Linked DNA regions of Homo sapiens: regions 2 and 3 are each linked to region 1. Evidence: promoter capture Hi-C in 16 types of primary human blood cells and fetal thymus (Javierre and others, 2016). All regions are on one chromosome and are shown on one strand. The core of a region is centred on a gene start or on the middle of the fragment in contact, and the rest is flanking DNA. Distances in the headings are between cores, read along the strand shown. Region 1 holds the start of INO80C (INO80 complex subunit C). Region 2 has its middle 41 kb from the start of ZNF396. Region 3 overlaps LOC105372063 (a long non-coding RNA gene).

What was found. The method cuts DNA at HindIII sites, captures the fragments that hold promoters and counts their contacts. A CHiCAGO score of 5 or more calls a contact.
Region 2: a fragment that was not itself captured here is called in contact with the fragment with the promoter of INO80C in region 1 in 1 of 17 cell types (M2 macrophages); the score reaches 6.3 in M2 macrophages.
Region 3: a fragment that was not itself captured here is called in contact with the fragment with the promoter of INO80C in region 1 in 1 of 17 cell types (M2 macrophages); the score reaches 6.2 in M2 macrophages.

The regions. Positions count from the first base shown.
Region 1 is chr18:35,495,874-35,499,876 of GRCh38, reverse strand. It overlaps INO80C (INO80 complex subunit C), which reads left to right and starts at 1,917. Exons shown (of 5, transcript NM_194281.4): 1 at 1,917-2,158. The coding sequence starts at 2,003. RefSeq lists enhancers at 1,740-2,009, 2,360-2,479, 2,750-2,899. The HindIII fragment of the contact is 4,638 bases long and covers 1-4,003 here.
Region 2 is chr18:35,416,314-35,420,355 of GRCh38, reverse strand. No RefSeq gene overlaps it. Among named protein-coding and RNA genes, the nearest start is that of ZNF396, 41 kb to the right of the region's middle. The HindIII fragment of the contact is 2,773 bases long and covers 81-2,853 here.
Region 3 is chr18:35,397,910-35,402,179 of GRCh38, reverse strand. All of the region lies in intron 2 of LOC105372063 (a long non-coding RNA gene), which reads left to right. Among named protein-coding and RNA genes, the nearest start is that of ZNF396, 23 kb to the right of the region's middle. The HindIII fragment of the contact is 2,979 bases long and covers 248-3,226 here.

The DNA.
Region 1 (4,003 bases), core at 668-3,167:
ATTTTTGTATTTTTAGTAGAGACGAGGTTTCACCGTGTTGGACAGGATGGCCTTTATCTCCTGACCTTGTGATCTGCCCGCCTCAGCCTCTCAAAGTGTTGGGATTACAGGTGTGAGCCACCGCGCCCGGCCCAGAGCCCAGTCATTAAGGACCTTGTATGACAAGCCAAAACGTTCTTACCCTGAAGGTAAAAAAAAAATTTTACCCTGAAGGCAAAAGGGCCCTGAAGAATGTAAGAAAGTAAGTGGTATGATTATATTTGTAATTTAGAAATCCCATTCTGGCAGCCAGTGTGAAGGATGGTCTGGGGTCAGGAATGGATAAGGGAAAGATGGCGGCCGAAACGTCCATCTGGAGGCTGTTGCTGAGATGTAGACATGGGATACAGATTCACCAGGGCAGGAGCCGTGAAGGAGAGAAGCGAGCTGAGGAGGTGAGGAATGGGAGGAGGTGGGGACAGTAGAGTTTGCTTAGGTGACTGGCTTGTTGGAGGTGAGTCCTTGAGTTAAGGAATGAGGAAAAGACTAGCTTTAGATGAGGATAGGGATGGAGATGGGGTGTGGGAAAGAACATTTCAACACTGGTAGGCTTATTCCTTTCTCTAAAGGAAAAAATATGTCAGTAACAATATTGCAAGTTTCCCTAACTGCTCCTTCTCTCTCACCTCTAAGTCATTGTGCAGCCTGTTTATTTCAAATATCAAGACTCATATACATCAACTTCCTGTATTCAAACATAGTAGCTTCCACCAATCACTGCAGGGAGTTAGTTCATTCGTTAAATACATCATTAAAAATACTTATAATGCACCAATGACTTGCAAGGTACTGTGATTGGGGGGACTGATAAGTTAACAAGACATAACTGACCCTTCCCTCATACAGATTACATTCTAGCAGGAGCCAAAAAAGACATTAACCATCCGATTATAAATCATTTAGTTATATGATGTCGCAAAGGTTCTGTAAAAATATAGGGTAGAATGAGGCAAAGAACAAGGCGGGTAGGGGGACTCAGGTTCCTAAATAGGTTTTAGTAGATCTGTGACCTCCCTGAAATCTGTAAAATTTTGTCTGTGTCTGTATACATTTAATGGGGTGGTGGGGAGGTGGGGGTGTGCGGCAGGGATAGGAAGCACAGATTCCATGCTCAAGAGTCTGTGAATCCTAAGAGATTAAGAACCGGCCGGGCGTGGTGGCTTACGCCTGTAATCCCAGCACTTAGGGAGGCCGAGGCGGGCAGATCACCTGAGGTCGGGAGCTCGAGACCAGCCTGACCAACATGGAGAAACCCCGTCTCTACTAAAAATACAAAATTAGCCGGGCATGGTGGCACATGCCTGTGATCCCAGCTACTCGGGAGGCTGAGGCAGGAGAATCGCTTGAACCCGGGAGGCGGAGTTTGCAGTGAGCCGAGATCGCGCCATTGCACTCCAGCCTGGACAACAAGAGCGAAACTCCGTCTCAAATAAAAGAAAAAAAAAAAGGGAGAGATTAAGAACCACTCTACCCTTCATGTCCATTTGGGCGCTATTTATATACAAACCTTTTCCGCGTGGGAAGGCAGGGAGGGATAGAGGGAGAAGCCAGTAGCTTGGCGGTCTACTGAGAACGACCCCAGCTTTAGGCTTACAGACATCAAAAGTAATCACTCTTCTATATGAGAAAAGACAACACGCTCATTAATTTTTTAAAACGTAGTTACTTAAAAAGATTGGGAGATTTTCTATTCCTCTATCAATGGGGATTTCCAGGCACGTGCCCCACCCAAGGCCCACGCCCAGAGCGCCCGAGTGGCAGGACAACGCCCGCTGACATCTTCCCGTCCCGACGGCACAGGCTACTCCGAGCTCCGCCTTTTAGATTGCACCGAGAGAAGCCAGCTACAGCTTGGAGTCCAGGCCGGGTTTTCAAGCATCAAGACGGAAGTAACAGCGGAAAGGAAGTTCCAAGGCCCGCGCTGGGAAAAAGGTGGGGGGACCAGGGGAAGACTCGGAGTGCGATGGCGGCGCAAATTCCAATTGTGGCCACCACTTCCACTCCCGGAATAGTCCGGAACAGCAAGAAGAGGCCGGCCAGCCCTTCCCACAATGGCAGCAGCGGCGGGGGCTATGGCGCCAGTAAGAAGAAAAAAGCGTCCGCTTCCAGCTTTGCGCAGGTACGCAGTCGCGCTCCCAGGCTGCGCGTGCGCGTCGCGAAACGGGACTTGGCGGGGCGGAGCCGAGCCAGGGCGCGTGCGTAATGTGGGGCGCTGCGCGTGCGGTCTCCGTTGGGGTTGAAAGACGCTGCCCCGCGGAGTGAATGACTACTCTTTCCCTTCGTTTGGACACATGGGCTTACAACGCCTTGTGTTGTAAGGAGAGAAGAAGAAGTAGGGAGGTTATTACTGACTTAGTATTAATAGAAGGACTGCCTCTTCCCCTCGAGGTCGCCTTTAGCATGAGGTTCAGGACTAATGAGTGTCAGTCATTCAGAAATTTGCGTGTCTTCCCCTCGTCCATTCTGCAGACATCTACCCAGTGTCTTTGAGGCGCATAGCGCTGTAATGTCCTGCATGGATGAATACAAGATGTATTGATAAGTATGCTTTCTCTCATCCTGAGAAAAGTGCTTTTTTGACCCTGGGTTTCCCAATCCAAAGGCAGGTTTGGTCTTAACTCATGGGCTTGTTAAGGTTATGAAGTAATGAGTGTAAAGGCACTGAGCTCAGCGCCTGGCTCAGACGTCAGGGCCTCTGAACAATCTAGGTTCCGTAATTCCAGCAATGAATTTTCAGCAGGGAGTGGCTTGATTAGTGTTTTCTCTGGCTCCTGCATTTTATTCAAAGCAAAAAAGCAGAGATAGAGTGTGTTACTTTGTGCTCCTCAGCATATGGTGTGACACCACCGTTCACCCAGTCAGTCAGTGGCTGTTCTAGAAATCTTGTTCCTTCTTCTGTAGGTGATTGGTAGTGCTTTTTATTTTAACCTTTTAATATTAAATACTTTGCTATAGTAAGATTTACACAGAGTACAATGCACAAATTTTCAAGAATACTGGCTGAACCACAGATCTTCAAGAATCCTGTCTCACGCCTGTATCCCAGCACTTTGAGAGGCCAAGGTGAGAGGATTGCTTGAGGACAGGAGTTCGAGACCTGCTCCCCAACCCCCATCCAAATTTACAAATAGCTGGGCGTGATGGTGCACGCCTTTAGTCCCAACTACAAGAGCATCACTTAAGCCCAAGATTTCAAGGTTACAGCGAGCTATGATCGTGCCATTGCAGTCCAGCTTGGGCAACAGAGTGAGCCTATCGCAAACAAAACAAAACAAAACAAAACTACAGATCCAGTGCCCTTTTACATTTGTATACACCTATGGCCACTGCCTGGATCAAGATAGCATTTCTAAGAGCAGGTGACATTTTCCTGTCAGTACTGTCTTTCCTTCCTAACAGTTACCCACTGTTCAGCCACCCTTCACAATAGACTGACTTTGGGTTGGAACATAATATAAATGGAATAATACAGGACAATAGGGAACATATTCTTTTGCATCTGTCTAGGTTCCTTTTTGAGACAATGTTTTTGAGAGTCGTTTAGTACATCTGTTGCATTGTATAAACATACACCCGATGAATATTTGAACGTTTACAGTTTTTGGCTTTGTGCAGAAGCTGCTCTGAACATTCTTGTACAAGTCTTTGTGTAGATAGATGCTTTCATTTCTCTTGAGAAGTAGTGGAATTGCTGAGTCAGAAGGTAGGCATACATTTAACTCAGTAACTGTTAAACAGTATTTCTCAAAGTAGTTGCACTGTTTTTGCATTCTTACCGGCAAAGTATGAGAGTGCCAGTTGCTCGAAATCCTCAACAATACAGAGTATTGTCAGTCTTTCATTGTCAGTCTTTAACTTTTAGCCATTTTGTTGAGTGTGTAGTAGTATCTCCTTGTTTTAATTTGTTTCTCTGATGGCTAATGATATCAATCACTTTTCATGAGCTTGTTGGACATTCCAGATC
Region 2 (4,042 bases), core at 218-2,717, 79 kb after region 1:
ATAAATTCCTTTTTTATATACTAGGAATGAACAATCATATATTGATATTAAAATACAATGTTTCCAAAAAATGAAAAGCTTGGGATACATCTGACAAAAGATGTGAAAGAGCTCTACACTGAAAAATATAAAACAATGCTGAGATAAATAAAAGAAAATCTAAATAAAAGGAGATTATATTTTGTTCGGTGGTAAGAAAACACAACATATAGTTGTGATGTCAATTCTCCCTAAATTAATCTATATATTCAATTCAATCTCAAAATCCAGTATTATTCATATAGAAATTGATATTTTGATTCTAAAATTCACATAGAAATGCAAAAACCTGAAATATTCAAACAACTTTGAAAAATAAGAGAAAAATTGCGGTTAACTCTACCAGACTTCAAGACACTGTAATGCTGTGATAGTCAAAACAGTGTTGTATTGGCATAGCAATAAACAATCAGATAAATGGAACAGAATACAGAGTCCAGATATAGACCCAAACATACATTGACAAAGGATTTTTGACAAAGGTACAGGGAAATCCAGTAGAGAAAAAGTATCTTAGTTCATTCAGGCAGCTATAACAAAAATACCTTAGACTGAGTAATTTATACATAATAGAAATGTATTGCTCACAGTTCTGGAGGCTGGGAAGTCCAAAATCAATGCACTATCAGATTTAGTGTCTGGTGAGGGAATGATCTCTTTTTCCAAGGTGGCACCTTGTTACTGCATCCTCACATGGCAGGTCAAGGCTGTTCCCTTCAACCTCTTTTATAAGGGCAGTAATCCCATTCATGGCATCTCTGCCTCATGACTTAATCACTTCCTAAAAGTCCCACCTCTCAATACTGTCAGATTTGTGATTAAATTTCAACATCTGAATTTTGGGAGGACACATCCAGATCATTGCAGATAGCCTTTTTAACAAATGATGCTGGAACAATTGCATATCCACATGAAAACAAATGAACTATTCATACTTCACACTATATATAAATATTAACACAAAATGGATCTATATTAGTCCATTCTTACACTGCTATAAAGAACTGCCCTGGACTGGGTAATTTATAAAGAAAAGAGGTTTAACTGACTCACAGTTCCATATGGCTGGGGCCTCAGGAAACTTAAAATCATGGTGGAAAGGGAAGCAGGCATGTCTTACACGGTTGCAGGCGAGAGAGAGAATGTGTGAGAGTGCAGGAAAAACTACCATTTATAGCCATTTATAAAACAATCAGATGTCATGAGAATTCACTCACTATTACGAGAACAGCATGGGGGAAATGGCCTTCATAATCCAGTCACTTCCCTCTCTCAACACATGGGGATTAAAATTCGAGATGAGATTTGGGTGAGGACACACAGCTAAACCATATCAGGGTCATTGACTGTGGTAAGAAGAATTACGTCCACCAAAAAGTTTCTATACCCTGATCCCCAAGACTGAATATGTTACATAGCAAAAATGACTTTGCAGAGGTAATTAAGGTTACTAATCAGCTGACTTAGAATAGGGAGGCTACCCTGGATTTCCACGTGGTTCCAATGTAATCCACATGTGTCCTTAAAAGCAGAAGAAAAAGACAGAAATGGAAGTTAGAGGGAGTCAAAGCATGAAGAGTCAGTGTACCATTGCTTGTTTGAAGATGGAGCTTGGCCATGTGAGAAGAAATACGGACAGCCTTAAATTGCTGAGAGAAAGGCCCTTGGCTAATAGCCAGCAAGGAACAGAGATCTCAGTCGTATGACCATAAGTAATTGAATTACTTCAATAAGTAATTACTTTGGCCAACTTCAATTACTTGTGTAATTACTTCTTGAAGTAATAAGGAACTGTTGATTCATGCTACAAGATGGATGAATTTCAAAATTATCAAGCCAAATGAATGTAATTACTTACTGAAGTAATTACACAAGTAACTGAAATTGGCCAAAGACCTTAGTTTGCTTGGAAGAGGACCCAAAGACACAGAACTGCAGCTTTAGCCAATAACTTGATTTTAGCCCAAAGAATACAGTCATGCCATGCTGGATTTCTAACCTATAGAAACAGTAAGATAATAAATTTGCATTGTTTTAAGCTGCTACATTTCTGGTAATTTGTTATGCTGCAGTAGAAAAGTAGTAAATAGGCCTTAATTTAAAACCTAAAACCACAAAACCTCTAGAAGAAAACATGAAATGTTCATCATAAACTTGAGTTAAGCAAAGACTTATATACAACACTTACACACCACACTTCTTATATACACAATTCCTTTACATACAGACGCGTTTCATAAAAGAACAATTTGATAAAGTAGACCTCATCCATAAAACAGTTGTTCTTCAAGAGACTGTTATGAGAATGAACATACAAGCCAGAGACTAGGAGAAAATATTTGTAAATTACATATATAATAAAGAACTTCTATCTGGAATATATGTAGACTTCTCAAAGCACAATAAAAGAAAAACAGACAAACCAATTTTAAAAGTAGGCAAAAGGCTTAAACACTCATTTCACTGAAGAGGATACATGAATGGCAAATAAGCAAAATATGCCCAACATCTTTGTAATTAGGAAAATGAAAATTAAAACCACAATAAGATACCTCTGCACTCCTGCTAGAATGGCTAAAATTAAAAAGACTAATCATACAACCTGCTGGTAAGGATTTGAAGGAACTAGAACTCTTACACTGCTTGTGGGAATGTAAAATTATACCAACACTTTGAAAAACAGTCTGGCAACTTCTTAAGAAGTTAAACATATACCTACCCTCTAACCCAATCATTTCTTTCCCATGTACTTACCCAAAAGAAAAGAAAGCATATGTTCCTGCAAACAATTTTATGCAAATGTTCATAGAAGCTTTATTTGTAATAGCCAACAACTGAAAACAACTCAACTGTCCACTGACCAGTGAATGGGTAAATAAATTGTGGTATATCCATACAGTGGAATACTACTCAGCAATAAACAGGAAGGAATTGTTGATTCGTGCTACAAGATGGATGAATCTCAAAATTATCATGCCAAATGAAAGAAGCCAGACAAAAAAGTACCTCCTGTATGATTCCATTAACTAAAAACTTTAGAAAATGCAAACTAATCTATAGTGATGAGAGGGCATCACAGGTTACACAAAGACAGGGATGTGGAGAGAGATGGGAGAAAGGAATTACAAAAGGACACAAGGAAGTCTGAGGGGATTATGGATTTGTTCACTATCTTGATATTTGTGATGGTTTCATGGGTTAATCCGTATGTCAAAACTTACCAATTTGTGTGTTTTAAACATATGCACGGTTTGTATGACAATTTTATTTCTATAAAGCTTTTAATTATGAAATAAAAGAATATTTACATAAATGTACAAGGATGTAATGAGAACACTTTACAAAGTTGTTTCTTCCAAACTAATCTGTAAATTAAATGTAATCCTTACTAAAGTTGCAACAAGATTTTTTTTAAAGATTTGGCAAACTTATTCTAAAATGTAGTAGAATACTAAAGATTCTCAAATAGATTAGTCAATTTTTTTTTGAGACATGGTCTCACTCTATCCTCCAGGCTGGCATGCAGTGGCATGATCATGGCTCACTGCAGCCTCGAACTCCCAGGCTGAAGTGATACTCCCACCTCAGCCTCCTGAGTAGCTGGAACCACAGGCACACGCCACCATGCCAGGCTAAATTTTTACTTTTGTCTTTTGTAGAAATGAGGTCTCACTATGTTGCCCAGGCTGGTCTCAAACTCCTGGGCTTAAGCGAACCCTCCCACCACGGCCTCCCAAAGTGTTGGGATTACAGGCATGAGCCACTGTGCCCAGCCTGATAAGTCAATTTGATAATAAAAACAAAGAAGGACAAATTGTCTTACTAATTAATTGTGAAGACATACTGTAGACACAATATTAAAACAGTGGATATTGGCACAGGAGCAGGCAAATGGAAAATCACTTGCGCCTAGGCAGTCAAGGCTACAGTGAGCTGTGATTATGCCACTGCAGTCCAGCCTGGGTGACAGAGGGAGACTGTATCTCAAAAGCAAACAAACAAA
Region 3 (4,270 bases), core at 488-2,987, 98 kb after region 1:
AGGTCATTTTAATAGCAGAGTTCCCTGTGGGGTTGATTAAGGCTGCCATTGGGTTGTATCACAGCCCATCCGGCCCTTTGCTCTCTCACCTTTCCTTCCTTTTCCTCCCGCACACATTGATCCCAAAGACATTCCTCAAACAGACTGCTCGGTCAACTTCATCTCAGAATCTGTTTCCGAAAGAACCCAACCCAATCCAACTATAAATTGATCATAGCTGAGGAAGCTTTGAAGCTCCTTCAAAGCTTCTTCCAGCTTTAAAAAAGGATTGCAGGCAATTTTATATAGGTGCTAAAAATAATATGATCATGTTGAAAAAAATGCACCTGTCAAAAAAATTCAGTGACTGCTTTGCTATACATACTCTTTTTATTTTTTAAAAAAGAATTTTTGAGAATAGTTTTTGAATAAAAGTATTTTATAGGTTCACTGGTATAATAAAATTAATTTGTTAATTAATAAAGGTTTCAAAAAAGTATATAATTACATTCAGTGGCCTTTCTCAGTGTAAACATGCCCTGGTGTAGACATAAATTACAGTCACTCTTATTAATTGTGTCTTCTCTTTTTTTCTTGAAGGGTCTCACCAGTGGTTTATTGATTGGATGTCTTTGAAAGAACTATAGCTTTGTTATCATTTTTATTGTATGTATTGTATTACATACACATTACATTATGTATTGTATTACATACACATATACATTATGTATTGTATTACAATAAAAATGTAATACATTTTTATTGTATTTATCATTTTATTGTATGTTTTCTTTTTTTATTGTTTTTATTTTATTTCTAATATGTTCTTTCTTCTACTGTATTTTGCTATATTTTATTGTTCTTTTTCTTTTTTTTTTTTTTGAGACGGAGTCTGGCTCTGTCGCCCAGGCTGGAGTGCAGTGACGCCATCTCGGCTCACTGCAAGCTCCGCCTCCCGGGTTCACGCCATTCTCCTGCCTCAGCCTCCCGAGTAGCTAGGACTACAGGCGCCCACCACCACGCCCCGCTAATTTTTTGTATTTTTAGTAGAGACGGGGTTTCACCATGTTAGCCAGGATGGTCTCGATCTCCTGACCTCGTGATCCGCCCACCTCGGCCTCCCAAAGTGCTGGGATTACAGGCGTGAGCCACGGCACCCAGCCTATTGTGCCTTTTCTAACCTTTTGAAATGAATGCTTTCTTTGTTAATTTTCACCTTTTATGCACTAAAGATTACAAGTTTTCTTTTCAGTACTGCCTTAGCTACATCTTACATTTTAATGTGTAGTATTTTACTACCATTTACTTATTTTAATTGGGAGTTAATTGTTATTCATTTTAGTATTTTTAATTTATATTTAAATTACTTTAAATTGACAAATAAATTGGATATATTCATCATGTACCACGTGATGTTTTGAAATATGTATACATTGTAGAATGGCTAAATCAAGCTAATTAACATACTCATTACCTTACATACTTATCACTGTGGTGAGAACATTTAAAATCTACTCTTGGTGATTCAAGATATCACCATTTAATTTAAAATGTTTTATAATATTCATTGTAAATTATTTTTGGACACATGGATTATTTAGAAATATATTTTATAATCTCCAAACATAAGAATATTTTTAAAGTTGTCTTTTTGTAATTTTGTAATTAATTTCTAGCTTAATTGCATTGTGGTAAGCAAACATTCTGTATAATTTTAATCCTGTGAAAATTGTGTATGATTTTCAACCCTGTGAGATTTGTTGAGACTTACTTTAGAGCCCAGCATATGGTCAGTTTTGGTGAAGATTCCATGCGTCCTTGAAAAGAAAATGTATTCAGCAGTTGTTGGGTGCAGTATTCTGTATATTCTGTATATATTAAATATATATTCTATATTCTGTATAGAAATCCAGTTTATTAATTGAATTGTTCAAATCTTCTAAATTTTTGCTGAGTTTTTTGTCTGCTCAATTCTATGTTTCCAAGAGAAATACAGGATATTAGCTACAAGACTTCTGTACATGCTAAATAACAGTGACTTAAACAAGACAGAGAGTTTATTTCCCCTTGGTGTGAAAGTCTCAGTAGGTGGGTGAACAAGGAGTGTATGTGTCTCTGCAACTTACTATTATTCAGGGATCCAGGTTATTCTATCTGTGGCTTCAGCCAACCCCTACAGGGTTGTTCACATCTACCAGGTAGAAATAGGCCAATCATTTGCATGACCATTTTCTACTTTATAGAAATAAAATGTAAGCTGAGAGCAAGGAGCTTTCTTTTCAGGATATGAGTGGGAAGTTACTTACACACATGGTCACACCTTGCTGCATGGGGGGCTGGGAGGTGTTTTGCCCTTGAGTGGCTGTATTCATTTCCTACTGCTGCTGTTACAAATTACCACAAACGTGGTGACTTAAAACAGCATGAATTTATTGTTTTACAGTTCTAGAAGTTAGAAGTGTAAAATGGTCTAACTTGGCTAAAACAAAGGTGTTGTCAGGGCTGTGCCAACAGCCTTGGAGCCTTCTAGAGGCTACATGAGAGAATCTGTTTCCTTGTCTTTTCCAGCTTCTAGAGATCGCCTACATTCCATGGCTCATGGCCCCTTCTTCCACCTTCACGTCCAGCAATGTAGCACATTCGTTTCTCTGACTCCAACCTCTTCTTCTGCCTCCCTCTTCCATTTAAAGACCCTGTGCTTACACTGGACCCACCAGGATTATCCAAGATAATTTCTTATTTTTAAAGTTAGTTAATTAGCAACCTTAATTCCATCTGCAATCTTAATTCCCCCATGCCAGGCAACATAACATAGTCACAGGTTTCAGGGATAGAACATGGCCATCTTTGGAGAACATTAGTCTGTCTACCACACCTGCCATTCTCAATGTGCTTGCATTTCATTTTTTGCTTTATTATCTCATGATTTCCAAACCGTGCAGCTTCAAGCATCACTTTCTTACACAACTGCATTGAAGTCAGGAAGAAAATGGCAAGGGGGAAAGGGCTTTCCTTTTATCAGGAGCAAAGTCTTTCCCAAATGCTTTCCAGGTCATTTTTTCCTTTGTTCTCATTGCTAATAACTGGATCTCTTGGCCATTCATCCTAGCAACAAATGAGGCTGGAAATGTAAGTAGGTAATAAAAAGAGAAGGAGTTGGATTACAATGACTGGTTTCAAAAAGAGAGAACTGCTATTGGGCAGGCATCTAATGGTGCCTGCTCAGAAAGCCACCAGCTCCTAAGCTTTAGTCACCTGCCTTCCCGTTTTCTAGTTTTCTCATTCTACTAGCCTGTCACACTTTAACTCATGCTAGCATGCATTTTCCCCACTAACTATTGTTTATGCTATGAACTTTGTATTTGAGATCCTTCAGATGTCAGCTTTGAATTTTCAAAGATGAATTTTTATAACTCAAGAAAAGAAAGGAAAGGAATGAGGAAATTTCTCAAAAAGCCCACTATTTAAAAAGATAAATGTTCTATTGGAATTTTTAAAATATTGGTTTTAAAGACTATTGTTCCCACTATGTGGTTAAAAAAACTATTTGGAAAAACTCTAAGCTTTTCTGTCCCTTGAAACAATACCCACTTCAGGCTCATGACTTGAGTGATAGAAAGGCTATGAGGTGAGAAGGAAATTTACTGAGAACAGCATCATCAGAAGTTGCTGTTTCAGAGTCTTATCCTATCACAAACGTCTCTACTTAATGCCTCCTTTCTGCTCCTCTAATTTAGTCATCAGCTGATTGCAATCTTCACGTTCACTCAAAGCCTTCCCTGTAAACAGTTCTAGGAAAGGGGACCAAGGATCTTCATACTGTCCAATTCGATGAAGATTTTCTTGGTCCTGGGCAAAGAAGCCCTGGAAGAAGCCCCCATGGCAGACTCCTAGGACCTAGGAGAGGCCTCTGCTCCTGAAGCCACTGAGGAGCAAGCCTCCAGCCTCCAGGATGCTCTGAAGCACAAAAGGAATGAATCCTGGAGAGGAGCTCAGCCCTAGCTCAATGGTTAACAGGCACTTCCTGTCTGCAGAGAGGATTCAGTGGGATGGTGTGTATGAGGCACTTGTCACAGTAGTATCAAGTGCCTATGAAATGTGAGCTATTTTGTTGCTAGGATTAGTAAGTTGATTTCTGATACAGGAAAAGGAGAATCTACTACTTACGCTCCTTGGCTGTCTTGTGTGGGAAACAATTTGGAAATGTATAAAATCTGTATTCCTCTCCAGCCTTCATTATCTCAGAGGAAAGAGTGTCTCTCTTTCTATAGCACTATAGAAAGGTGGTCAC